Regions from separate parts of the Homo sapiens genome. Here region 2 is linked to region 1. Evidence: promoter capture Hi-C in human tissues and cell types (Jung and others, 2019). All regions are on one chromosome and are shown on one strand. Each heading gives the region's core, a stretch centred on a gene start or on the middle of the fragment in contact. The rest is flanking DNA. Distances are from core to core; before and after follow the strand shown.

Region 1 (4,042 bases), core at 1,097-3,596:
TAAATTTTATTTTATCATAGTAGTATTAGAGGCTTAGATTGCAAGATGTACTTTGATAAATATAAAACAAAAATTCTGGCTGCTTTAAAACACTCAGGCACTGGTTGTTGAAACAATGTATTCAGATTGACTAGTTTTCAGAATTCTTCTATGTTTGTTCATTATTCAATAAATATTTATCAAAAAGCTGTTCTGTAATATGCACTAAGTATATAATAGAGAGCAAAAACAGGTACAAAATAAGAGCAGCTAATACCTACTGAGCACTTATAACATATTGTGCCCTGTTTTAAGTGCTTTACATATATTACCTCATAGCATCCTCTCAAAAACTCTAAGAAGTAGAAGTGTTATCATCTCCATTTTGCAGTCAATAAAATGGAGGCACAGAGAGGTTAGGTAATTTGTCCAGTGTTTCATAGCTAGTACATGATGAGTTGGGATGTGAATCTGGGCAGCATGATTCCAGAGTCTGCACTCTTAACTGCTGGGATGTACTAACTCTCCTACATTTTAACAGCTTTCCTTGTAGTATACAGTATAATGAATGAGATGCTTATTGAATAAATCATTCAAGCAAATGAAAAATTTTAACTCTGATGAATGCCACGAAGGGGAGTGTGGCAGAAACCAGAGAGCTGTTACCAAAATATGTCTCTTTTCCTTCTGGATACACAGACTACATTCCTAGCCTCCCTTGCAGTCATGTGACCAAGTTCTGGCCAGTGGAATGTGGACAAAAGGGAGGTACACACTTCCAGGTCTGGACCATAAAACATATGTATACCAATATGCCAAGTTCTTATTCTTTTAATCGACCTAAGGCAGAGAGTGTGGCCTGAAGACACAAAGGAACAGCTGTCAGAATTGAGAACTTCTCAAACATTTACTTAGGCTTAATAGAAACTTATGCATATGAAAATGCCCATAGCAGAAGGAACATTGGGTAAATCATTTAAGTTTGAAGAGAAGGAAATTTTAGACACCGTTTAGTCTGTAACCTGAATTTATCTTGGCTGCGTTATGGCCAGTCTCCATATAGTATGGTATTCAGAAACAGGTCTTATATCCAAATAAGAAATGCAAAGTAATTTACATTTTTAGGGAAGATTTTTAAAGAGGCAACAAAGGGAGACGTATACCCCAAGAAGGTTTAACAATCCTTTCAATCATTTAATTCCTCTAAGTCTCTCTCATCATTACATATTTCTTGTCTCCCTTCTTGTTTGTCCCTCTCTCCTGCAACTCTGTGTAGTAGGACTCTGTTTTCCCCTAACTCAGCTTTTTATTATGTATTTATCAATTTATTATGTATAGATCAATTCAGTTCTTCAGTACCTTACAGCTCTTCTCTCTCTTACTCTAATCTGCACAACTGAGCCCCAGGAGGGACTTGACAAACCATGAGAAAGTCTTTAGAAGTATGGGAAATCGTGTTGGGGAAGGGAGGAAGAATATGAACGCTATGTATATTTACATGTTTTGGTTACATGTCCAGACAACCAATTTGCAAATGAATAAAGTGACGCCTAAATAAATTAGGTGATTTGACACTCTTGAGTCATACGGAGTTGGGCCTAGAACTCAGTGTTACTTCATTTGAAATAACCCTTATTATGGTTCCCTAGCAGGCCATCCTATAGCCTGCCATATATGGTCGTTTTGCACCCCTAGACGACAGAACGCTAGGGAGAGTAAGGAAGGCTGAGTTTTTGCTTCTACTAGGTTCGATGACCTTGGGCAGGTTGTCCTCTCTAAGGCTCTGTGTTTTTCTTCATAAGAAGGGTTAGACAAGATGAACTTTTGGGTCATGTCCAGCACTAAAATTCCTTGCTTCTGATCTGTCCCGGGCCCTGCGGCTGTGGCAGTGGTGGTATCGAGCTAGTCAAGAAGCTTCGCCCCTATTTGTCCCCCACCCTATTGGGGGAGAGGGAGAACCTCTCCCTCTTGGTTGCTTCTTTAGTGTCCTTGTAGGACCCACGTGGTGGTCATCTCCCGTCACGGGGGTCCAGTCTTGGCTCTGCGGGCTTCCCAGGGGCCACATAGGGAGAGGATCCTTCATGCATCAGAGTATCGCAGGCCAGAGTCTATGCCTTATCCCCACCTGTTTGGAACCAGCTTCCAAACCGTGGTCCCCAGCCTTCAGCAGGCCTACCGCGCAGGCGCAACCACCAGCCTGGCGCGAGGCGGACAAACGCCGAGGCCGAGGCAAGGTGAGAGGGCGGGGCTGGCAAGACCCCGCCTCCGTGGCGTCACGTGGGAGGCGGAGTCGGAAGTGTGACGGCGTGCGCGGGGCGGGGCTACTGCTGCGCGCGGGCGCGGGGGCGGGGCGGGGCGCGGCGCGGCGCGGCGCTCGCGGCTGCTGCCTGGGAGGGAGGCCGGGCAGGCGGCTGAGCGGCGCGGCTCTCAACGTGACGGGGAAGTGGTTCGGGCGGCCGCGGCTTACTACCCCAGGGCGAACGGACGGACGACGGAGGCGGGAGCCGGTAGCCGAGCCGGGCGACCTAGAGAACGAGCGGGTCAGGCTCAGCGTCGGCCACTCTGTCGGTCCGCTGAATGAAGTGCCCGCCCCTCTAAGCCCGGAGCCCGGCGCTTTCCCCGCAAGATGGACGGTTTCGCCGGCAGTCTCGGTGAGTACGGCTGGGGAGTCCTGCGTCTTCTGCGAAGGGTAGGAACTTTTTTCCTTCCGCACACAGCCCAGGCCCTGCCCTCCCGCCTGCCCCTCGGGGTGGCAGCGGCTCCACTGCACATGTTCCCTTCGAGGCTGCCGCCCCTCCGCGGACTCCGGTGGACTGAGGGCCCCTCCCCCATGTCCAACTCTCCTCTGTGTCAGACCCTCCTTTCCTCCCGGAGCCCCTTTCAGTGCGGGGCCCTCGTTCCCCCAAAGTGGGAACCCCTTCCTTCTCAGGCCCCCCGATAGCTGGCACACCCCTCCCCGTACACTCACGGCTCCCTCCACTTACCCCCCTTCAGAGTTGGGACATTTCTTCAAATCCAGGCTCCTCTTCAGGGTACAACCTTCCACCACCTTTCCACATACACGCCTCTCTTTCAGGGTGGGGATCGCCTTCACCCGAACAGAGGCTCCTTTTTAGGGGAGGGACCCTCATTCCCTCTTCAGGAAGGGGGCATCCCCCGCCCCCAAGTCTTCACTTTAGATTTGAAGGCGACTTTCCAGTATCCTTCAGAGTAGTAGGCAACTTCCTTTTCAATCCCTCCACTTCTCTGAGCATTTTGCAGTGGTGGAGAGACCTAGAAGCATCGGAGCATCATTTGCTTAATGCAGGAAAGGAAGAGGTGCATCTGTGTTGGGGGACCCTCTTTAAGAGTGAAAGCAGAAGTGTTTTCTGGTTCTGCATACATGCTGGGGAGAAGTGATTCTGCCCAATGAATCAATAGGAAAGGGGGCCTCTATCAGGGAAGGAAAGGATTCTCCATTTTTGGAAGATGTTGTCTTTGTGGAATGGAGAAAGGGAAGAGGTTATTAAATAGGCTGAAGTGCCTTTTCAGTGTTCCTTTCACCAGATGAAGGTAATCTTCTGGCTAGGAAAATCAAAACTCCAGGCTAGTATTCGCTGCCCTAGAAGCTGAATCTGGAATTACTATTCTTCGAGGCCATTGAAATCTAGTAAAAGATTAAGTTCAACTGTTAGAATGGTGAGAGAAACAGTTTCAGCTTTGGCTGATAACGCAGTTGTGTGATACCTACTGCTGGAACTGTATTTTGAGTTTTTTATGTGCAGGTAGCTTGTATTCAGACGCCTTTCTTTTACATTTCTTGATAATAAGTCTCTACTTGGTTAATGTTCACTGATCAGTGAGCAGTCTGGCCATAGGCCGTACTATATCCAGATAATATCGAGATGAGATGGATTTTTAAAATCTAAAGTAAAAAAGTAAGTCAAAGAGCAATGGGCCTATTATAGATATTAAATAGTAAAACCTATAATTTTGGCCTTCCCTTTTTCTTGGGCAGAAAAAATTGTCGTTATATTGCTTTCAGAGTGGAAATCCTAAAATAGGAGGCAACTGAGTGTTGTGT
Region 2 (4,042 bases), core at 746-3,245, 340 kb before region 1:
AATCTGTGAGATTGTCAAGTGGATTGTGAGATGTCCAGAATTCCTGAATCTCCTTCTGCTCACCAAATGCCACCCTTTCCTCATTGTTACCACTACTAAAACTTGCCCTACCCATCCCACATCACCCTTTATGGACAATACTCATACAACCCACACTGATAGCCACTGCACTGGAAGATAACAATAACTCTATAGAGCTGGTAGGAAGAGGCTACTTTATAAATGAAAACTGAGGAATCTGAGTGAGGTGAAGGCGCCCTCCCAAAATCACACAACAAGTAAATTTCATAGCCAGTTTTTCCACCATTTCACACCACTTCACATAATCATTTCACTTCACTACATTTCTAATCATCTACCATTTTCAAAGCTCTTTTAAAAATATTATTTTAATTGGTCTTAAGCTGTCCCAGCTGAAAGGAAATGGCAGAGGGCTAGAATAGTGGGAGTGGTTGAAGTCTCTTAGCCAATGTGGGTTGCTGTGGCAAATTCCGACCTCCACATCTGCAAGATGCCTACATTTGTGCTCATATTTGCCCCCTTTGCACTCAACAAATTAAAGCTCCTCCTACTTAAGCCTAATTCCTCCCCTCAGTTTTCGGATCCCACTCCCCATCGCCTCATTTTATTGATTATGCCATCTGTTTCTTGCATCTTCAAACTTACTCACTCTACTGCCTCTTTCCCATCAGGAGATGGGAAAGTTTCCTTAGCCTCATGTCCTTTTCAGAACATAGCCCTTCTCCTTTTGAAGGAGACTGATTAAATGCTCTGCCTTCTTTTCCTCTTCTTTCCACTCCAGTGTAATTTGGTTTCTGGCCCACAACTGCTCTTAAACTTCTCTTACCATAGATTCCAAGGTCTACCTTGTACTAGCTCCAACAGACACTCTTCAGTCCTTATCTTACTTAGCCTGTGCTCAGCATTTGATACATTAACCTCTCCCTTTTTGAAACGGTCTCTTCCTTGGCCCAGGCTTCCCTGGTTTTCCTCCTCCTCTCTGGCCATAGGACATTTCTCTTCTCCCTGTCACTCAAATGCTGATGTTTCAGTATTCTGTCCTAGTCTCCCTTCTCTTTTCCCTTTATACCTTCTCCCAGGTTTCATTTACCATCTATATTACCAGCTCATACAAGTCTCTCAAGCTCCAGACCCATGTAACTCACATCCTGCTAAATTCAACAAGCCCAAAATGGACCAAAATTCAACGAGTCCAAAACTGAACATCATCCTCCCCATCTCAAATCTATTCCTGAATAGCTCAATCTGTGGCATTTTCATACACCAGCCACACTAGATTCTTCTTCTTCCTCATATCCACATTGAATTTTTCACCAAGCCTATTTACCTTCTCAATGCCCTCCTACCTATCTGCATTTCCAATGACACTGCCTTAGTCCAGACTCTCAAAATCTGTCAACTGAAAATCTGCAATAGCTACCTAACTGGTCTCACTGCCCCTAATTGTGTCTCCTTCCAATCTCTTCTTTCAATCACAATGAGTTATTTTCCTAAAAACAACTAAAGTCCTAAAATATGACTCACCACATCATGTTCTATCTTTAAGCCTTTCAGTGGCTTCTCAGTGCCTTTTAGCTAAACTCTCACCTCACCATGGCCTGTCTAGTGGAGCCCTACCTATCTTTCCAGCCTACTCTCCCGCTTGCTTCTCACACCCTGCAACTACCTCCTCTCCTCCCACAGTAAATTTCTTTCAATTCCCAATGCACTGCATTATCTTTTGCTCCTAGGACTTCACACAAGAAGAACTCCCATCTGGAACCTCATTCCTAAACTCCTCCCTCTACTGGCTTCCCCTACTCATCCTTCAGACCTCGGAAAAGGCCACTTTCCGACCTCCACTTGATGAGGCTGGGTCCCCCCTGCTGTGTTCTCCCAACACCCTAATCTTTCCCTGTTGTGAAACTTATCACACCCTTTCACAATTACTTATTTACCTATTTGTTTTCCCCATGAAGCTGTAAGTCACTTGAGAATACTAGTCTATCTTGCTTACCTTAATAGCTATAATGCTGGCACAGTGCTTTGAAGACTCAATAGATATAGTTTTTAACAGACTATACAAGAATAGATAAAAAATTAAGAAATCCAAGCCTGTATGGCAGCTCTCCTGGGACTCAGCAGTCCCCTCTGGCTCATTTTCTGGCTTATGCAACCTTACGGTGACCCCTGTGTGGCACCCTCCCTTATATGAACCAGCGTTCTTTGTTCACATATAGGAGAGTGCTCTGTTTGCTGTAACCTCAGCTTCGAGAAAACAATGCCCATATTGCATTAACCTGCTAGGCCAGCTTCAGAAAGGATCTCTGAATGTCATGATTTCAGAAACCGTAAAGTTACTCCTTGTTCCACTGCAGAAAAAAATACTTTTCCTTGAGCAATTCTTAAAATTCCTTTATCTGTGGGTCAAAGATATTATTTGTCAACTAGAGGCAAGTCAAATGCAAATGGCTTTTAAATTTATACTATGGAAATTAAAATTACAAACCCTAAATTTTTAAATTAACTTTTAATTAAAATTACAGTTAAAAACCAGAAGTCACAAGTTTCTCATAGAGCAGTCTTGAGAGATTAAGAAACTGACCTATTGACATGAGGCTTTGAGAATACTCTGCACTAAGCTAATAATTACACCTTGTTATACAGATAAGAACTGGAAAATATTTACCAGTCAGTTAACTTAAACCCACTAAGAATACAAACATTAGATAGCTTGGAGGGGTAGAATGCTTTTTTGTCAGATTTACATTTTTTCTGTATCTTGTCATCATAAAATTCAGTAGTTTGTACAGAGGTCCCTTGTAGGATTTTTCTCTAACTATAATGGTTAAATATTATACAATCTTTAACCTTGAGACTATAAAACTCACCTACTTATCCGTTGTAGGAAATTGCATTCCCCAATCATTGTTTATTTGTTATAGGAAATTGGATTTTGTAATGTTTAACCCACTGTTAACTGTTTTACTGTTTAACAGAGTGACTTCACTGAGTTTGTTATAATTAAATTAACCAGTATAAAAACAATTCAGATCCTCTTGGGGTTAATGAAAAATCACCCATCTTTTTCCTGGTACTGATTTTGACACAAGTAAATATAAAGAGTGATTACAGCAGAAACATTTTTAAACAATATGAAAAATAACTCAACTTTTTCCTCTACAGCCTTAAAGCATACATGATTGAAGTAGGGCCATTCCTTGGGTAATAACTGGGGAGAAGAGCTGGGGGGAGCACTGGACCCCAGTGACTTTGGGAGGGAGAAATAAAGGGACCCCATGCAGAGGAAGAGGGGAGATGGAGGTAGATTCAAAATGGGGAGGAGAGGGCACGAAACAGAGTGTCAATCTAGAGAGGTAACGTGGGCTAGTCGTTCTCCATGCACTAGTTTGAGTCCCATTTGACCCGGGCTCAAATTCTGGCTCTGCCTGCCACTCATGCACTTTATCATCAAACAACTTGCATAGTCTCCCTGAGCCTTAGTTGTAACATAAGGATCCTAACAGTGAACTCATGGAGGTGAGAGGATTAAAAGAGATGTTTATAAAGCCTTCAGCTCAGTCCTGAGCATGAAAATATCCAGTAACAATGCTGCATAAATAGCCTATTTTGTGGTTGTGGTTGTTGTTAATATCTTCCATCTCACTATTTCACTTAGGCTCAGTCTTGATGACTCAGCTGAGGCACTTTCTGCATGTCCCAGCCATGGGGCAGCCAGCCACAGAGCCTCCACGCATGTAAAGGTGCTGCAGTCTCTTGTCCTGGTCCTCATTCTCACTGCAGTTCTAACCTCAGGGCCCTGACATGGCAGCTCTCTGAGGACAGCTGCATCTTCTCTGGGCATCCTATCAGAAATGGCCAAAAAGCCATTCTAAAATGTCTCCTGCCATTATGTTGAGGTATAATGGAATGAGTATAAACTCTAGAATCAGATGTATTTGCAGACAACTTGCTCACCATGTAATCTTGACAAATTTGCTTCTTTCCAGATTCTTTACCTTAATTTGGGTTTACTGCCACC

What was found. Contacts are between HindIII fragments. The study calls those that stand out against the background at their distance.
Region 2: a contact is called between a fragment that was not itself captured here and the fragment with the promoter of EML4 in region 1, in 1 of the 25 tissues and cell types used here (liver).

Annotation. Positions count from the first base shown.
Region 1 is chr2:42,167,007-42,171,048 of GRCh38, forward strand. It overlaps EML4 (EMAP like 4), which reads left to right and starts at 2,347. Exons shown (of 23, transcript NM_019063.5): 1 at 2,347-2,630. The coding sequence starts at 2,606. EML4-AS1 (EML4 antisense RNA 1) reads right to left here and starts at 3,225. Exons shown (of 4, transcript NR_110584.1): 1 at 2,964-3,225. RefSeq lists enhancers at 1,929-2,068, 2,081-2,733 and silencers at 2,149-2,198, 2,299-2,358. The HindIII fragment of the contact is 12,178 bases long and covers 1-4,042 here.
Region 2 is chr2:41,825,572-41,829,613 of GRCh38, forward strand. No RefSeq gene overlaps it. Among named protein-coding and RNA genes, the nearest start is that of LINC01913, 50 kb to the right of the region's middle. The HindIII fragment of the contact is 7,189 bases long and covers 1-4,042 here.